Linked DNA regions of Homo sapiens: all the other regions are linked to region 2. The links are contacts of gene promoters, found by promoter capture Hi-C in blood cells and fetal thymus (Javierre and others, 2016). All regions are on one chromosome and are shown on one strand. Each heading gives the region's core, a stretch centred on a gene start or on the middle of the fragment in contact. The rest is flanking DNA. Distances are from core to core; before and after follow the strand shown. Region 1 has its middle 1.9 kb from the start of ALG10B. Region 2 holds the start of CPNE8 (copine 8). Region 3 has its middle 17 kb from the start of ALG10B. Region 4 has its middle 60 kb from the start of ALG10B. Region 5 has its middle 76 kb from the start of ALG10B.

Region 1 (3,331 bases), core at 533-3,032, 590 kb before region 2:
CCTGAGACTTTCAAGGGTAAAACTGGAAAGTCTGCCACAAACCAGAAAGATTTGTTCTATGAAAGTTATCAGAATCAAAATGGGGCCACTTGCATAAAAACCCTGAAAAATGGAGCTAAGGAAGACCAGAAAGGGAGGGTTTATATGCGTGTATGCCTGACAACAGGAACTACGACAAAAGACTGCACAAACCACAACTTTGCACAAAGGCCACCACAATCTCACAAAAAATTACTTCTGTGAGGACATTTGCCCAGCAACTGCCTGTCCAACCTCAAACTGGTGCCACCCTTTCTACCAGTCCTTGTAACCAAGGATAATTGTCTCAAAGCAATTTATGTAACCCTCTTCATTTTTCTTTTAAAATCCCTTGTCTTCTTTTACCTCCCTATGTTCATTGTATTCTCACCAAATAAATATTACTGTTTTTTAGAAGGGTCTCTCCGTGTGTGTGTTACTTAGGTTTAACCAGTCCCCTATACAATGTCTTCAAGACATTTTCAGTAGAGCTAAAATACTTGCTAATGCTTTTGTACTAAAATGTTGTGTGTTTTTTTAATTGATTCATTAATTTTAAAATTTAGATTTTAAATTGATATGTTAAGATTGACCTCAAGGGTAGAGTTGCATTTTAGAGGTTATCATCTGTGATTTTTGGCCCAGGGTGCAGTACTCTGCTGTAGCTAGAACGAATTGTCACCTAGAAAGGAGTAAACCGTCACTCTGATTAGCAAGTGGCCAATGTTTTCATTCAGCAACAAGTGAAAAGGGGTGCAATAAGAGGCAGGGTGTTTCTTGGACTAATACTTCAAAGTTATTACAGTTACAGCCTTTGGGGAAATTCACTGTTCAGATATGGCTGTTTCAAACAGTTAAGTATATGCTATGTTGTCTGAGTTCATCAAATTAGGAATGTCTTAATTGATCAAAGTCAGCTAGGTTATACCAGAGAAATAAAGTCAAAATCTTAATGGCTTATAAACCAAAAAAGATGTATTTCTTGCTAAAACAACCTATCCTTAGAACCCCAACAGAAATTGCCCATTTTTCTGCCGTAACTTATTTATCATAATTCAAGTAGCACAAATAAATAGTTGATGTGCAATTATAATGGGATTGCTCATCCTAATGACTCTTTTTCACAAACATCTATGGAAAATGGCAGTTGGAATTCTGAATGGAAAATATAAGTTGAAATCAATGCTGATCTAGTTTTAAATGATAGGTCTAATAAAATGTAGTCTATTTCATTAAAACCCCAGAGGTAGCTATTTTACTAGGTCTTGATTTAGGAGCAGAGCTTTGGAAAGCATTTCAAGATTATCAAAGATGCTGTAATCTAAGAGTAGAAAAGTGACAACAGCTTCATCGATTTGCAGATAGTAAAAGTAACTCACTAACAAATGAGTGAAGTACTCTATGAAGAACTCTACTGGGCCCATGGAGCTTCTTAGCATTCTTAGGTAATATGTTTTACATCAATCGTTTCCAAATATGAAGATCAGTATTCAGTGATTTGAGATGGCTCTCTAGAATCTAGTTTTTCACAATGATCCCCCAGCAGATTTTGATGTAATTAGTCTGTAAGACGAACATTTTTTTAAAAGATGAAACTTGTATTTCAAATTGGTGTATGGAAACAGAGAATAGTGGAATGTAAATGTAAAGTTATTGGGACTAGTGAAACATTCAATTCAGTATATATTGTAGATTATTTTAACCTATAAGGCTGTGAAGTTATTTTATTACTCTTGGTCTGATGTTCTAATTCCTACACTTGGTTCTGACACTAATTTTTTATGTAATTTTAGGTAAATTATTCATTTTTTAAAAATCAGCTTCTTTTATAAAATGAAGTCAAGTAGATTATTAATAAAGATCCCTAGCCATCCTAAAACCCTATATTTCCTTGAAACTTTCCATTTTATGTAAAGCGATGTGTGCAGCATGTATAGGAGTCAAATGTTTAACATAAACTATTGGTGGCAATTGTTATGAAGAAAAATGGAGAGCATAAATGTCTAGTCTTGTTCTACTCCCTTTAAAAACGGCCCACTATTTCTAGGGTGGGTCAGTAAGCTGCAGAGTATATATAACACGATTTAGCAGGTCAATAGGTCAGGGGCTAATTACTCGTAGATCACATCAACCTCTTGAAGACTGAATCATCTGGAGATGTGTTACAAGTGACTTAAACAGATAAGTACAGCATGGAATCAATAATAAAATGGGAGATGATGGTTAAAGCAAAGCTAAGCATCACATCAGAGTAGAATCCTGACATGATTTTATTCCAGTAATGTAAATATTCCCGTCCCAGCCCTCATTCACCACTACCTCCTCTTATCATTGAGGAAACAGGCAGAGACAGACTGGAAAGGCAGTCAGCTTGATTTAAGAAACTTTCTTAAGTTCAGAAATACTGAATTATTTTTAACCCAGAAAAAGAGCTCAATTGAGAACTCTGAGGTTTGCAACCTTAAATCCCGACTCAATCTGATATATGCCTGCCAAAGGCAACCTGACTGAGGTTACCTGAGAGAAAGTTTTTCTACAAAACATGGCCAACCATGCTCAAGACAAAATTCCAACACATAATTTATCTTCGGCATTCTTCAAATTATTTACCACATCTCCTGCCCCCAACACCTAATCCCAGAATACAGGAATTTGATGATGTCTACACAGCCTATAAAAGTCCACAAATTTAAGTGCCTACTGTGTGAAAGCCATTTGGGGGACTACAAACATAAAGGATGTATAATGCCACCCACTAAGATGTTCACGCTTATGATTTAGTAGGAAAAACAGAAGGCTGCCTTATAAATATTAACAACCTAATTTACAGGCACACCTAAAACATCCCAAATTCTAAAATATATATTTTCTTCCAAATCCTACAGGGTAATATGGCTATGAGAGTGCACTAGGAGTGTCAATTTTACTAAATCCTCTGAGAGCATCCACATTTTGAAAGAGTTCTCTCTTAACCTAAACAAACAAACAAACGAACAAACACTCCTCTCACTGAAGTTCATTCGGCATTGACGGGTCTCTGGTTCTTCAAGTTTTCATCTGAAAGTCTCAGTCTTTGCTATCACAACCAACGCCCCCTTCCTACACTCCAAGGTTGATGGAATGAAATGTCTTGGAATTGAGGGTTTAATTAATTCGGATCACTGGAGAGAAAGAAAAGAAATAACGGGGGAAAAAAATGTGTTAATTTTAGGGCTTGGAATTGGAAACGTGGGGAAACGTCGCCACCTTCTGGTAAGTGATGGAAATGAGCAGGAAAAAAGATCCAAGCTAAGAAGCGGCTTTTTTTTTTTTC
Region 2 (3,135 bases), core at 80-2,579:
ATGCAAACAAGGGAGTGGGCTCCAGGGTCAATATTAATTCGCAAATTAGTGGCCAGTACCAATTTAGCACCATCGCTCATCTCCTTCTCAAAATCATCTATGATATAGCGGTGATGCTGCTTTATTTACAGGGCAACTAACCGAAAGGTCAGGACAACGAGTTTGCAATTTACAGTCTCTGGACAGGGTTGAAAGTCAGTTTTTTTTTGTTTTTTTTTTTTTTTTGAGATGGAGTCTTGCGCTGTCGCCCAGGCTGGAGTGCAATGGCAAGATCTCAGCTCATTGCAACATCCACATCCCGGGTTCAAGCGATTCTCCTGTCTCAGTCTCCCGAGTAGCTGGGACTACAGGCGCGTGCCACCACGTCCGGCTAATTTTTGCATTTTTAGTAGAGACGGAGTTTCACCATATTGGCCAGGCTGGTCTCGAACTCCTGACCTCGTGATCCACCCGCCTTGGCCTCCCAAAGTGCTGGGAATACAGGCGTATAAACTGTACTGAGCCACTGCGCCCGGCCGAGAGTCAGTTTTTACAAGCACTCAGATGTGGGCCCGAAAACAAATCAAAACAAAAGTCGTGACTTCCCAGATCTTAGGTAAGGCATAGATTCGTCTGCAAGGAGGGCCGAAATCTCTACCTATCAGGCAAAAGGCAAAAAGCCCGGAAGGGTCGGGGAGAAGCAAGCTGGAAGGCTCCAGGAAGTGGGTGGGGAGGAAGCTGCCGGGGTTGGAGCCAACCCTAGCAACAGCAGGTTTGCACACGCCTAGCAGAGGAAGTCCCGGGCCTAAGCGTGCAGCGGTCACAAGAGCTTTTGGCAGTGCTGTCCCCTTCGATTCCGGTCATCACCCAACCATCCAGCCCGGGTTTGGGGCGGAAAACCGGCTTGTAAAGTGGGCGGCGGCCGGTGTTCCCACAGCTGAGTCACAGCCCAGCCAACTTTTACAGCGTTTCCCAGAAAGAAAATACAAAGTCTCAGTCCCGGAGCCCACCGCTTCTAATTCCCGCTCCCCTGTGTCACCTGACCCGGGGTAACTCCAGCCCCACTACTGAGATATTTCCCACTCATGGCGCAACTTCTTGCCTGCGCAAAGCCTCGTGGTACCCCGAGCGCTCTCCAAGTGCTACCAACCCCACAGATGAGAGGGCAGGAGAGAGGGGAAGGGCTGCGTCCTCACCTGCAGGACACGGACACCTCCACCCGCGTGGCCGGGATGGCAGCGCTCAGCTGGTTCAAGTCCCCGATGCCCGCAGTGCTGTTGTAGCGGCTGTCCATATTGGGAGGAGGCGCCTTGGACTTGTCCGGCGCCCACAACCACAGCTCGGGCGGACTGAGGGCTAGCTCCCGTCAGGCGGGGATGGGGGTTGAGGGTGGAGGCAGAAGAAGGAGGCGGAGGCAGCGCGCGGGATGGGGGAGGGAAGGGAGGAGGCGGACCTCCGCGCAGAGCCACGAGGGAACCGCTAGCCAGTCCTGGGTGAAACTGACGCTGCCAGGCAAGTGGCGCGCGGGGATCCCGGTTTCCCAGCCCCCTTCCGGCAGGCAGCAGCCCGGGCGGGGGACACACTCCGTGATCCCCTCCTGGCTGGAGGGGTCAGGCTTGGTGGACCCAGCAAGCAGCCTGATGGAGAAGGTGGCACCAGACGCAGACCCCTACCGTCCAGGACCGCAAGCCCTCGCCGGCTCTGCGTGCTTTTAGGTTTTGTCTCCACCTCTGCACACCCACACTCGCCTCCTGGGCCGCGACAGCTTCCTTCTGTCAATCAGGTGTGGACGGGAAGGTCTCGAAGTTTCCTCGCCTGAGTTGAAAGCTGGAGGTGGGGGCACCTCTGCCCGTTCCTAACTGCCCCGTTATAAGGTCCCCCTCCCCACAATTGGTTCTCACCTCGCCCTCGGAGCTCTTGGGAGATCCCTCCGTCCCTCCTACTGTGCCCTCGGGCAGATGAGTCTGGTCCCAGCTTCTGGACTGCCCACTGTCGGCCACTTGAGAGTTGGGGACGGTGGGGCATTGTGACGCTCTCCAACCTTGGAACACGGTGGCAAAGTGGCCGATCAATATATGGGACAAGTGGGGGCGGGGGGGCGGACTCTAAGGTGGAAAAAACAATACTACTTGGGATTTAAGGAAGCAATCTGGATTCTGTCTCCCCTTGGTTCTTCGGAGCTTAGAGGTCTAACGGCGACATTCCTCCTACAGTAAGGGCTCTTCTGGGTCCCTCGTTTCCAAAGGCATGAAAGTTCTGACCTGAAAATGGGGGCCGGGGAGGGTGATGTCACAACCATATAACGCAGCTCCTTCAGCCGACTCCCACCCGCAAGAACTGAGACCTGACGGATAAAAGCAGAGAGGAGTCAGAGTGAGCGCTGCGTTTGGGAAACTGCATTCCAGGGCAGCAAGACTGGTGCCAAGACGGAGTCGTGGCAAAAGCATCCGGAGGTAGACGAGGCGCCCCTCCACTGCAGGGACCTTTGTTCCCCGCGCCTTCCCTCCTGCCTCACCCGAGCGCCTGCGGGTCCCGGGAGCTCGCCACCAGGCGGCGACGGAGAACAGGATGCGGCGCAGCTGGAAGGCAGAGGGTGGAGAGGGGGCGGGTGTCCGTCCGATTTAACGCTCCAAGCACGGAGTTTCCAGCTGGTTGGGCTAAGTCTGGGAGGAGCAGTTTTTGCGGTGGAGGACTTGCCTTGCGTTGTAACATTTTAATCCACTTGCAGCCTCCTGCCTAGAGAATCTATAGAGGCGGGTGAGAGTGTGTAGGTGCAGTCTTGCCGATTCCCCTGCCGAGTGTACTTCCCCTGTTTCTTCTTGCTTTCCTTTCCTGATTTCCCCACCCACCGCTTTTTCTTCTTTTTTTTTCCTTCCTCTTGTCCTATTACAAATTAAACTGTAGTTTACTGCGATTTGGAAATGCCCTAAAACCCCAGGCATTTCTATTATGCTGCTCAAAGTTAATTTGGCATAGAGATCTAGGTTTTTTTTTAAGCTCACCAGAATTTTACTTTACAGAAGCCTACTGAAGAGATGAAACTTGAGAACTTTAGTAGTCAACATGTGGGATACTTACATCCAATTTGTTTCCACTTCAGTGAGGTATAACATATATAATGAACTGCACTTAAAGTGCATCCATCATTCGATAAAT
Region 3 (3,538 bases), core at 298-2,797, 570 kb before region 2:
ATAGAAAGCAGTTAAATTACTGGCTGATCACCTTGAACTTGTTGGGGCTTGGGTTTCTTTTTTAGGCTAGGTCTGTAGGAAGCTCAGAGTATTTACCAAACACATCTAACTTGGCAGGGTTCAAGCCCCAGTCTTTGGGTCTTGTGGTGAAAAAAAAGAAAGTGGTCCCTACTCTGTGTTTGCAGACTTCCACCTCTTACTTTCCATTGGGTGTCTTCGAGTTTCTCTTATCATATGCAGCTCAGAGGTCAGCCCAGGACTTATACACAGATTTTGGGATTCCCTTCTTCTGTGACTCCCTCTTTTCTGAGATTTCTCCTAATTACAGCTACTCTAGCAGTCCTGAGTTCCATCCTTTCACACCTCAAACCAATCATACTGCACCTTTCTAACTAGGGTGTGCCCTCTGGGGGAAAAGCCATATAAACATGGATCTCACCCAGTGAGATCTTTCAACTGAGTCCATCCAGTTCCTGCCTTCTTTTGTTTACTCTTCAATGTTTCCAAAAAGATTTTTTCCCTTTTTAAATGAGTCAATCTACTGGAAAGCTAATATAATAAAAGCTCCTCTACCATGACCTGCCTAAGAACCTTGTCTTGATTGTAGTTAACATGTGTTATGTGTAGTCTTTCTGTTTATTAGATAAGGAAGTTGTGGGTGTTATTTTTGGTTTTGTGAAACTAAAAGGGAGAATTCCTGAAAATAGTTTAGGTGGCAACAGTAAGTTTTTGGAATATGGACTTCTGTATTAGCCCATTCTCATGCTGCCAATAAAGACATACCCGAGATTGGGTAATTTATAAAGGAAAGAGGTTTGATCAACTCACAGTTCCACATGGCTGCAGAGGCCTCACAATCATGGCAGAAGGTGAAGGAGGAGCAAAGTCACATTTTACATGGTGGCAGGCAAAGAGAATGCTTACACAGGACAACTCCCATTTATAAAACAATTGGCTCTCGTGAGACTTACTCACTACTAGGAGTGAGTATGGGAAAGACCTGCCCCCATGATTTAGTTACCTCCCCCTGGGTCCCTCCCATGACACCTGGGAATTATGGGAGCTAAAATTCAAGATGAGATTTGGTTGAGGACACAGCCAAACCATATCACCTTCTAATATGGTCCTCTAACAAAGTTTATCGTAGTATTTGTTATTAAATGCAATGACAACTTGAGGGAACCTTGTGTGAAAAAAACGGTATCAAGAAACGCAAAAGTGACCTACTCTAGACAAGATGAACTCGCCTAATGGGGGCTAACTAATGCAAAGTACAATATGATTATCACTGAGGAGGAATATAAGAGCTAGGGTGTTTACATGAGAATAGAAATCACATCTGACTGAAGGGACAAAGACATACTTCATGGAGAAATTCACACTGGAGATTATTTGTATGGAAACCTGTGGAGACACTGCAGAAAGCATTTCAGGCAGAATAATGTGATGCAAACCATATGGCTGAGAAGCAGGTGGTGACAGTGGCCAACACTTATGCAGTGCTATGTGACAGGCACCAGTCTAAATATTGAACATGAATTTATTTAAGCCTCATAGAGATGCCCTAAGGCAAATGCTATTATGATCCCCATTTTTACTGACAAGGAAAATAAGTCATAGGGAATTGAAATAGTTTACAAACAGGAAATGCGGCTCCAGAACATGCCCTCTTAACCAGGGCGCTATACTGATTCCTGCTAAACTTGCATCATCTGATGGCCTGTGCATCCAAAGAACTGAGGTTATTTTTAGGAAGAAAGTAAGAACAGTGCTCTGCTGTATACAGTGAGGAGCAAGGAAAGCATATGTCCCACGCAGAGACCCACAGATAAATTGGTGTGGAGAGAAACATAGTTATTTAGATTCGATAGCCAGGTTTCAGTTCGCACCAGTAGAATGGCTCTGTGAGACAGGCCCTCCACTCTCCTGTAGATCCTGTTGTAAGTGATGCAGAAGCCAGAGAGAAGGTTGCTCTCCATCAGAAACATGAGGAGTTTTGGAGACCTCCCTAAAATATTTGATCTGAAAGGGTTTGAAGCCAGGAGGAGAGATGCAGTCTTAGGAGAAACGTTTCATGACCTGTAACAGGTACCCTATCAGTCTTTCTCAGTAAGTACTATTCTTTGTAATTTTTATATTTTCCTTGCAACCCTATCACTCTCTAAAGGTCTAGTGAAAAAATCAAATTTAGATGAAACCTAGCTTGACCTAGAATCTTCACTCTGTATGTGTGTGTGTGTGTGTGTGTGTGTGTGTGTGTGTGTGTTTAATGTATACATTGGGTCTTTGGGCCAAATACATTGTAAGGTTTCAGAGGTATAAACAGGCCCTGGGCTGTGGAGAACCATGGGAGGGGATGATCTTGATCTAAGTCAGTAGTTTTTACTTAGCCACATCTAGAAATCTATGTCTTGGTCATAAATTTTGTTCTTTGAAATGCAGGGAAATGTATCATAAAATGCAGGAAATGCAAGGAAAAGTAACACATTAAAGCTAATTGGTTATTAATATTATAAAAGCATATGAGAATGTCTTATTCTATTCCCTCCAGCTCTCCAACCATATCCCCCACACATACCCACACACTGCCTGCCCACACATAAGCACAAGTATTTCTGGGGATCATGAGCATGAGAACTTTAGGGGTATTGCTAGGAAAAGAAGGAAGAGAGTAAGTAGGAAGACTGAAGACAGAGAAAGGAACCACCAGAAAGAGTAGAAAAAAAGAGAGAAATCCTTTCTTCACATACCAATGACTCTAAGAATACCTTTCTCCATTAAAATAATATCCAAGAGGCACATTGGAATGAAATACATGTGGAATACTGATATGAAAAGACAGAAGAATATAATAGGATCTGAGTTGAAAGACCATGCTTATCTCTTCACTTGTACTATAAAAATTTACAGTGATGTCCTTTAGTTGGGGTAACTGTGATGAGCAACATTGAAACCCTTTATGCCAATTTTGTTTTCAAAATGCATTGTCTTAAATTTTCTCTCAAGGTGGCACTCCTGGACATCTTTTCCAGTTATTAGTCTGACAGGAACTTGGTACCATTTTACTTACCTTCATAATGTCACAGATGCTAGTCAATTTTTCATTTTTTTTTAAAAAATGCATTCTTTGAACATTTTTAGCTTTAAGCAAATATATTTGCTTATTTTTGTCATTGAGCATTTTGAAAACATGTGGTTAGAAGCTTGAAGCAGATAATCATAGCTGCATTCTATTCCCCGTAATTAAGAATATGTAAGGCCTGGCACAGTGGCTCACGCCCGTAATCCCAGCACTTTGGGAGGCCGAGGCAGGTGGATCACCTGAGATCAGGAGTTCGAGATCAGCCTGATCAACATGGAGAAACCCTGTCTCTACTAAAAATATAAAATTAGCCGGGCGTGGTGGCGCATGCCTGTAATCACAGATACTCTGGAGCCTGAGACAGGAGAATCGCTTGAACCCGGGAGGCGGAGGTTGCGGTGAGCTGAGATCGTGCCATTGCACTCCAGCCTGGGCAACAAAGCAAGACTCCATCTT
Region 4 (3,512 bases), core at 320-2,819, 530 kb before region 2:
TGTTTTAATTAGAGATGTGTCAAGTAATTCATTGTTAACCATGGTATAGATGAACTAGCATTGGTTACAATTTGGAAAACTCCCTGTACCTTTATTCCATGTATGGGAGTCTCTTGGCAAGATTTTTCTGTGAGCTGAAAATAATGCATATTATGTCTACTAATCATTAAGACATGTCCCATTGTGTTAATGCCATGACTACATGGAAAAACAGATGTGGCAATTAAAACCTGAAAGTGATACCCATTTATTTTTGGCTGGAAAAGTGCTACATATAGAAGTGTTTTGTTTTTTTTCTTCATTAGCCAAGATGGCATGAACAGAGTAACTATTATTTTCCTGCTATTTATGAATAGTTGATGAATCATGACCCACACTCAACCACCAGCATATTTCTATTTTTAAACCATTTTAAATTATGCTTATATTCATTTACTGAAATTTCTGTGAACTCCTGGGGAAAAAAAAAAACTAATATGTGTACTTCCATGTTTTTTTGTTTTGTTTTCTTTGGTTGGGAGGGGCATGGTTAAGCCACGTTGGCCAGAAAGCAAAGACTGATTAAATGACTAAAATAAAATAGCAGCTACGAACAAGCCTTGTACTCAAAGTGAAACTTACAAGCATAGAGATAGAAAGTGGAGAATGGTATTCCCAAGTCTATCATACATATATTGTAAAACCAACTGGTCATGTCCTTATTTGACAGTAATTGATCAAATTGACAATGGATATATGTAAATCCACTTTGAAGAAGACCAAAAATATCTTATTAACTAGATTTCAGCCTGTTCTAGTTTAAAAATTTTCTACAAGCTAAGTATTTTCAAGTATCTGGTTTTTGCAAATATTTTTTAAGACTTTTCAGGAAATTAAAGAATAAGATACAGCTTCCACTGTCATGAAGTTTACAATCCAGAAAAAGAGATAACACTATAATATAAACAACTATACTTCAAAACGAATTGTGTTAAGTATGAGAGGTAGCTTAAATTGCTGTGTGAGACTGTGGTAATAAAACTACAAAAAAACACAGTTCCTTTAAAAATCTCAGCTACCGTTTTTGAATAAATTGGTAAGCTGATCCTAAAATTCATGAAAAGTCAAGGGGCTTAGAAGAAAATTCAAGGGGCTTAGCCAAAACAGTATTTAAAAAGAAAAAGAAATGTGAAGGATTTATAATTTTTGATTTTAGAATTTACTATAATGCTATAGTAATCAAGCCAGTGTGGTATTGGTATGAGAAGAGACAAATGTATGAATGAAATAGAGTTGAAAATCCAGAAATATACCACCACATTTGTGGTCAATTGATTTTGAAAGGGGTGACATTGTCCTGGGATAACTGGAGAGCCACATTAAAAAAAAATAAAGAAGTTGGAATTATACTTTATTTTTTTAATTTTTTTATTTTTGCACAAGTTATTGGGATACAGGTGGTATTTGGTTGTATGAGTAAGTTCTTTAGTGGTGATTGTGAGATTTTGGTGCACCCATCACCTGAGCAGCAAACACTGTACCCTATTTGTAGTCTTTTATCCCTCGCCCCAATACCACTCTTACCCCCAAGTCTTCAAAGTCCATTTTATCATTCTTATGCCTTTGCATCCTCATAGCTTAGCTTTCACATATCAGTGAGAACATACAATGTTTGGTTTTCCATTCCTGAGTTACTTCCCTTAGAATAATAGCCTCTGGTCTCATCAAGGTCTGCAAATGCTGTTAATTCATTCCTTCTTATGACTGCATATTATTCCGCTATATATATGTAATATATATAACAGATTCTTTATCCACTCATTGATTGATGGGCATTTGGGTTGGTTCCATGATTTTGCAATTGTAAATTGTGCTGCTAAAAACGTGTGTGCAAGTATCTTTTTCGAATAATGACTTCTTTTCCTCTGGGTAGATACCCAGGAGTGGGATTGCTGTATCAAATGGTAGTTCTACTTTTAGTTCTTTAAGGAATCTCCCCACTGTTTTCCAAAGTGGCTGTACTAGTTTACATTCCTACCAGCAGTGTAAAAGTGTTGCCTGTTCACCACATCCATGCCAACGTCTACTGTTTTTTGAATTTTTGATTACGGCCATTCTTGCAGGAGTGAGGTGGTATTGCATTGTAGTTTTGATTTGCATTTCCCTGATCATTAGTGATGTTGAGCATTTTTTCATATGTTTATTGGCCATTTGTAAATCTTCTTTTGAGAATTGTCTATTTATGTCCTTAGCCCACTTTTTGATGGAATTGTTTGTTTTTATCCTCCTGATTTGTTTCAGTTCGCTGTAGATTCTGGATATTAGTCCTTTGTCAGATGTATAGATTGTGAAGATTTTCTCCCACTCTGTGGTTGTCTGTTTATTCTGCTGACTGTTCCTTTTGCTGTACAAAAGCTCTTTAATTAGGTCCCAGCTATTTATCTTTGTTTTTGTTGCATTGCTTCTGGATTCTTGGTCATGGAATCTTTGCCTCAGTCAATGTCTAGAAGGGTTTTTCCAATGTTATCTTCTAGAATTTTTATAATTTCAGGACTTAGGTTTAATTCTTTAATCCATCTTGAGTTGATTGTTGTATAAGGTGAGAAATGAGGATCCAATTTCATTCTCCTAAATGTCGATAGCCAATTATCCCAGCACCATTTGTTGAAAAGAGTGTCTTTTCCCCACTTTATGTTTGTGTTTGATTTGTTGGAGATCAACTGGCTGTAAGTGTTTGGGTTTATTTCTGGGTTTGCTATTCTGTTACATTGGTCTATGTGCCTATTTTTATACAAGTACCATGCTGTTTTGGTGACTATGGCCTTACAGTATATTTTGAAATCAGGTAGTGTAATGCCTCCAGATTTATTCTTTTTGCTTAGTCTTGCTTTGGCTCTGCAGGTCTTTTTTTTTTTTTTTTTTGGTTCCATGTGAATTTTAGAATTGTTTTTTCTGACTCTGTGAAGAATGATGGTGGTATTCTTATGGGGATTGTGTTGGATTTGTAGATTGCTTTTGGCAGTAAGGTTATTCTCACAATATTGAGTCTACCCATCCATGAGCATGGGATGTGTTTTCATTTGCTTATGTCATCTATGATTTCTTTTAGCAGTGCTTTGTAGTTTTCCTTGTGGAGGCCTTTCACCTCCTTTGTTAGGTATATTTCTAAGTATTTTTATTATTATTATTATTATTATTATTATTATTTTTATTGGCAGCTATTGTAAAACTGATTGAGTTCTTGATTTGATTATCTGCTTGGTTGCTGCTGGTGTATAGAAGAGCTAGTGATTTGTGTACATTAATCTTGTATTCGGAAACTTTGCTGAATTATTTTATCAGTTCTAGGAGCTTATTGAAGGAGTCCTTAGGGTTTTCAAGGTAAACAATCATACGGTAAGCAAACAGTGACAGTTTGCCTTCCTGCTTACCGATTTTGATGCCTTTTATTTCTTTCTCTTGTCTGCTCTGGCTAGGACTTCTGTTACTATGTTGAAGAGTGGTGAGAGTGGGCATCTTGTCTTGTTCTAGTT
Region 5 (3,127 bases), core at 514-3,013, 510 kb before region 2:
AACCATATAGAGTTCTGTTATAATAGAGATTTCTTCAAACCATATAGAGTTCTGACAGTGGTTAAGTTAGCCAGTTCATTCTCCTGTCAGGACAGAATCATAGCCAGTGACTAATATTCTACTGTTTGATTCAATCAGTTTTGAAATGTCACTACTTGTATCCCTCGTCACATTGCCCAAACAATAAGACTGACCTTTCTGTGACTGGTTAGCTCAGCTAAGAACACTGAATTTGATATTCAAATATGCAGGTTTGTTTTTGCTGTGTTCCCAGAAAAGAGACTGTCCTGCTTAAACTCTACTATCCTTCAAATATGTGTCAACATAGGCCATATTACTGTCATGTGCCATTAATTTCAGGAAAAACTACTTCTAAGGCCATGGCTGATTAACAGACTCTACCACTTAATGGTTTTAGTTGATGTGAGAAAGCAGGTGATGGATTCTGGGTGTACAAAGTTAAGTAAAAAGGGTATGGCTCCCTGGTTATAGTTTCATAGTGAGAGAGAAAAATAATCTCATGAAGAATTACAGTAAAGTATGATTCTTATGATGACATGAAAAGAGTATAATCTGGGAGTAAAAATAGTCTAAGAGGTCGGGGAAGGCTTGCTATGGAAAGTCACATTTAGGGAGAGACATGAAGAATGAATGAGAGTTAGGTGAAAAGTTGGGGAATGTTCTATGCATCTCACAGTACGAGCATTTCCTATCAAAAGTCAATAGAGACACAAATCTTTTCAGTGTTGCCCAAATATACAATCAAATGGCAAAATTACTATAGTATGAGTAATTTAGTGGAAATATATGTTGTAAACTTTTAAAAAAGTCTTCACATAGTAATACATAATTCTTACAATATGAGGGATTACCAGGAATTATACTAATATAATAATTTGATAAAGTATTCCAGAAAGAAGATAACTTTGAATACTGTCTTCTCACTGAGGATTTGTGCTTGCCCAAGGAGAGGGGATTGTCAAAGACAGAATGTTAGGGCTTTATTGTTATTCCTTTTTTTCAGAGTTGTTTGATTTTATTAATTTTCATTTCTAGAAGGCTAACATGTCTGTTCAGTTACCAAATATGTCATAACAAGGTCTTGGCACTGTGCTTTTCTGCACATGATTCCTATGCTCTGAAATGCCATTTTTCTTTTTCTAATTGGAAAGTACTATTAATTGTTTATATGTCCACATCTGCTGTTAGACCATGAGTTCTGAGACATCAGACCACGTCTTATTTACATTTCAATCCTCAGAGCCAATATGTTGCCTGGCAAGTAATCAATCTACAAAGGAGAAAAGTAATTGCAGTTGACCCTAGAACAATTAGGGTTAGGTGTGTTGAGCCCTGCACAGTAGAAAATCTGCATATAAATTTCGATTCCTCAAAAACTTTATAATAGCCTACTGTTGACTGGAAGCCTCACTGATAATATAAGCAGTTGATTAACATATATTTTGCATGTTATATGTATTATATGCTGTATTTTTACAAAATTTACTAAGAAGGTTGTAAGAAAGAGAGAATATATTTACTATTTATTAAGTGCAAGTGGATTATCATAAACGTCTTGATCCTTTTTGTCTTCCTATTGAGTAAGCTGAGGATGGGGAAGAAAGGGGAGGGGTTGATCTGTTAACTGTATATTCAAGCTTATATTACTTAAGAACTAGCTTAATGACTCATATTTAGAAACTGTTAAGCCATGTTCAGTATCTTGCTACTGCCATTGAGATTTTGCAATCGCCCAAGGCATTCTAGCTGAGGTATCTGCCTTGCAGCCTCAACAAAATGAGTCACCTTAGCATTCTTACTTTAAAAATATCAGTACCTGCTTTACGAAACATGGCTAATTCAGTACTCCAAGCTTCTGTCATGCCTTAGAAACTCTCAAAACCCTAATTTAGAAAGTTGTAATGAATATCTTCTTTGAATTTCTCTATTTACCAGATTCACCAGTTCATCTTTGAAAACAGGAAATGTCCTTGCCAGAAGTCTGCACAGATCTTTGAAACATTCATGTTTTATGGCGATTCTTGTCTTTCTAGGTACCTTGCTGTCCAAAACAAACTAAAATAATTGTTGTGTATCCCACTTTACGTTGTAGTCTTGCAGGAAGGGAATAATGGCTACAAGTAATTCCAAGATCAAAGGCAGTTGGGGGCTTGACATTTAAGCACATCTTCAATAGCAGTGCTGGCCTCCCAACCAATATCTTTAGTCTACACAAGTGTGCTGCCACTGTAGTAGTATTCTTGGTCTTTGAGGTCTAAATTGCAAACTATGTACTTGAATGGTAAGAAATTGAATAGCTCTCTAGTCTATCAATTTTCTAACTGTTAATATTCAACAAATACTTTTTAAATTAATAATGTATTATTATAGAAATACACTGGATTACAATACAAATGTCCAACTGTGGAAGATTAATTAAAGTGCAGTATACCACATAAGAGAACACTGTTCACCCATTTAAAAATGAAGTTATGAATCTCTGATTTTTGACTGGGAGTATGCATCATATAGCTGACAGAAATATTAAATGCTGAGGCAGATAATTCTTATATTACGTTGTTTTAAATATAGACTATATTTGTGCATTAAAAATAGAATGATCATAAAAGAAGAAAAAAATCTCAGAAGATAAATTTTGGGATAGAGTGGTATGGTTTGGCTGTGTCCCCACCCAAATCTCATCTTGAATTCCCATGTGTTGTGGGAGAGACCCAGTGGGAGGTAACTGAATCATGGGGGCAGGTGTTTCCTGTGCTGTTCTTGTGATAGTGAATAAGTCTCATGAGATCTGATGGTTTTAAAAAGAGGAGTTCCCCTGAACCAGGTCACTCTTGCCTGCTGCCATCCATATAAGATGTGACTTGCTCCTCCTTGCCTTCTGCCATGATTATGAGGCCTCCCCAGCTACATGGAACTGTAAGTTCATTAAACCTCTCTTTCTTCCCAGTCTCAGGTGTGGCTTTATCAGCAGCATGAAAATGGACTAATACAGATAGATACATGAATTTTATCAACATAAAAAGTACTGGTTTCCATATGATCTAATATTTATGTTATTTTATTATATACTAGGAATTTTAAAAACTATTTACATATCTTAATTTTG

What was found. Contacts are between HindIII fragments. The CHiCAGO score rates a contact against its expected background, and 5 or more counts as called.
Region 1: a contact is called between a fragment that was not itself captured here and the fragment with the promoter of CPNE8 in region 2, in 2 of 17 cell types (M2 macrophages and monocytes). The highest score is 8.0, in M2 macrophages.
Region 3: a contact is called between a fragment that was not itself captured here and the fragment with the promoter of CPNE8 in region 2, in 1 of 17 cell types (M2 macrophages). The highest score is 5.8, in M2 macrophages.
Region 4: a contact is called between a fragment that was not itself captured here and the fragment with the promoter of CPNE8 in region 2, in 1 of 17 cell types (monocytes). The highest score is 5.5, in monocytes.
Region 5: a contact is called between a fragment that was not itself captured here and the fragment with the promoter of CPNE8 in region 2, in 4 of 17 cell types (M2 macrophages, monocytes, M1 macrophages and 1 more). The highest score is 22.8, in M2 macrophages.

The regions. Positions count from the first base shown.
Region 1 is chr12:38,313,245-38,316,575 of GRCh38, forward strand. No RefSeq gene overlaps it. Among named protein-coding and RNA genes, the nearest start is that of ALG10B, 1.9 kb to the right of the region's middle. RefSeq lists an enhancer at 2,601-3,331. The HindIII fragment of the contact is 9,799 bases long and covers 1-3,331 here.
Region 2 is chr12:38,904,262-38,907,396 of GRCh38, forward strand. CPNE8 (copine 8) reads right to left here and starts at 1,330. Exons shown (of 20, transcript NM_153634.3): 1 at 1,176-1,330. The coding sequence starts at 1,273. It overlaps CPNE8-AS1 (CPNE8 antisense RNA 1), which reads left to right and starts at 1,451. Exons shown (of 2, transcript XR_007063275.1): 1 at 1,451-2,736. RefSeq lists a silencer at 1,315-1,484 and an enhancer at 2,615-2,874. The HindIII fragment of the contact is 5,959 bases long and covers 1-3,135 here.
Region 3 is chr12:38,331,533-38,335,070 of GRCh38, forward strand. No RefSeq gene overlaps it. Among named protein-coding and RNA genes, the nearest start is that of ALG10B, 17 kb to the left of the region's middle. The HindIII fragment of the contact is 3,308 bases long and covers 1-3,201 here.
Region 4 is chr12:38,374,713-38,378,224 of GRCh38, forward strand. No RefSeq gene overlaps it. Among named protein-coding and RNA genes, the nearest start is that of ALG10B, 60 kb to the left of the region's middle. The HindIII fragment of the contact is 8,931 bases long and covers 1-3,512 here.
Region 5 is chr12:38,391,031-38,394,157 of GRCh38, forward strand. No RefSeq gene overlaps it. Among named protein-coding and RNA genes, the nearest start is that of ALG10B, 76 kb to the left of the region's middle. The HindIII fragment of the contact is 215 bases long and covers 1,657-1,871 here.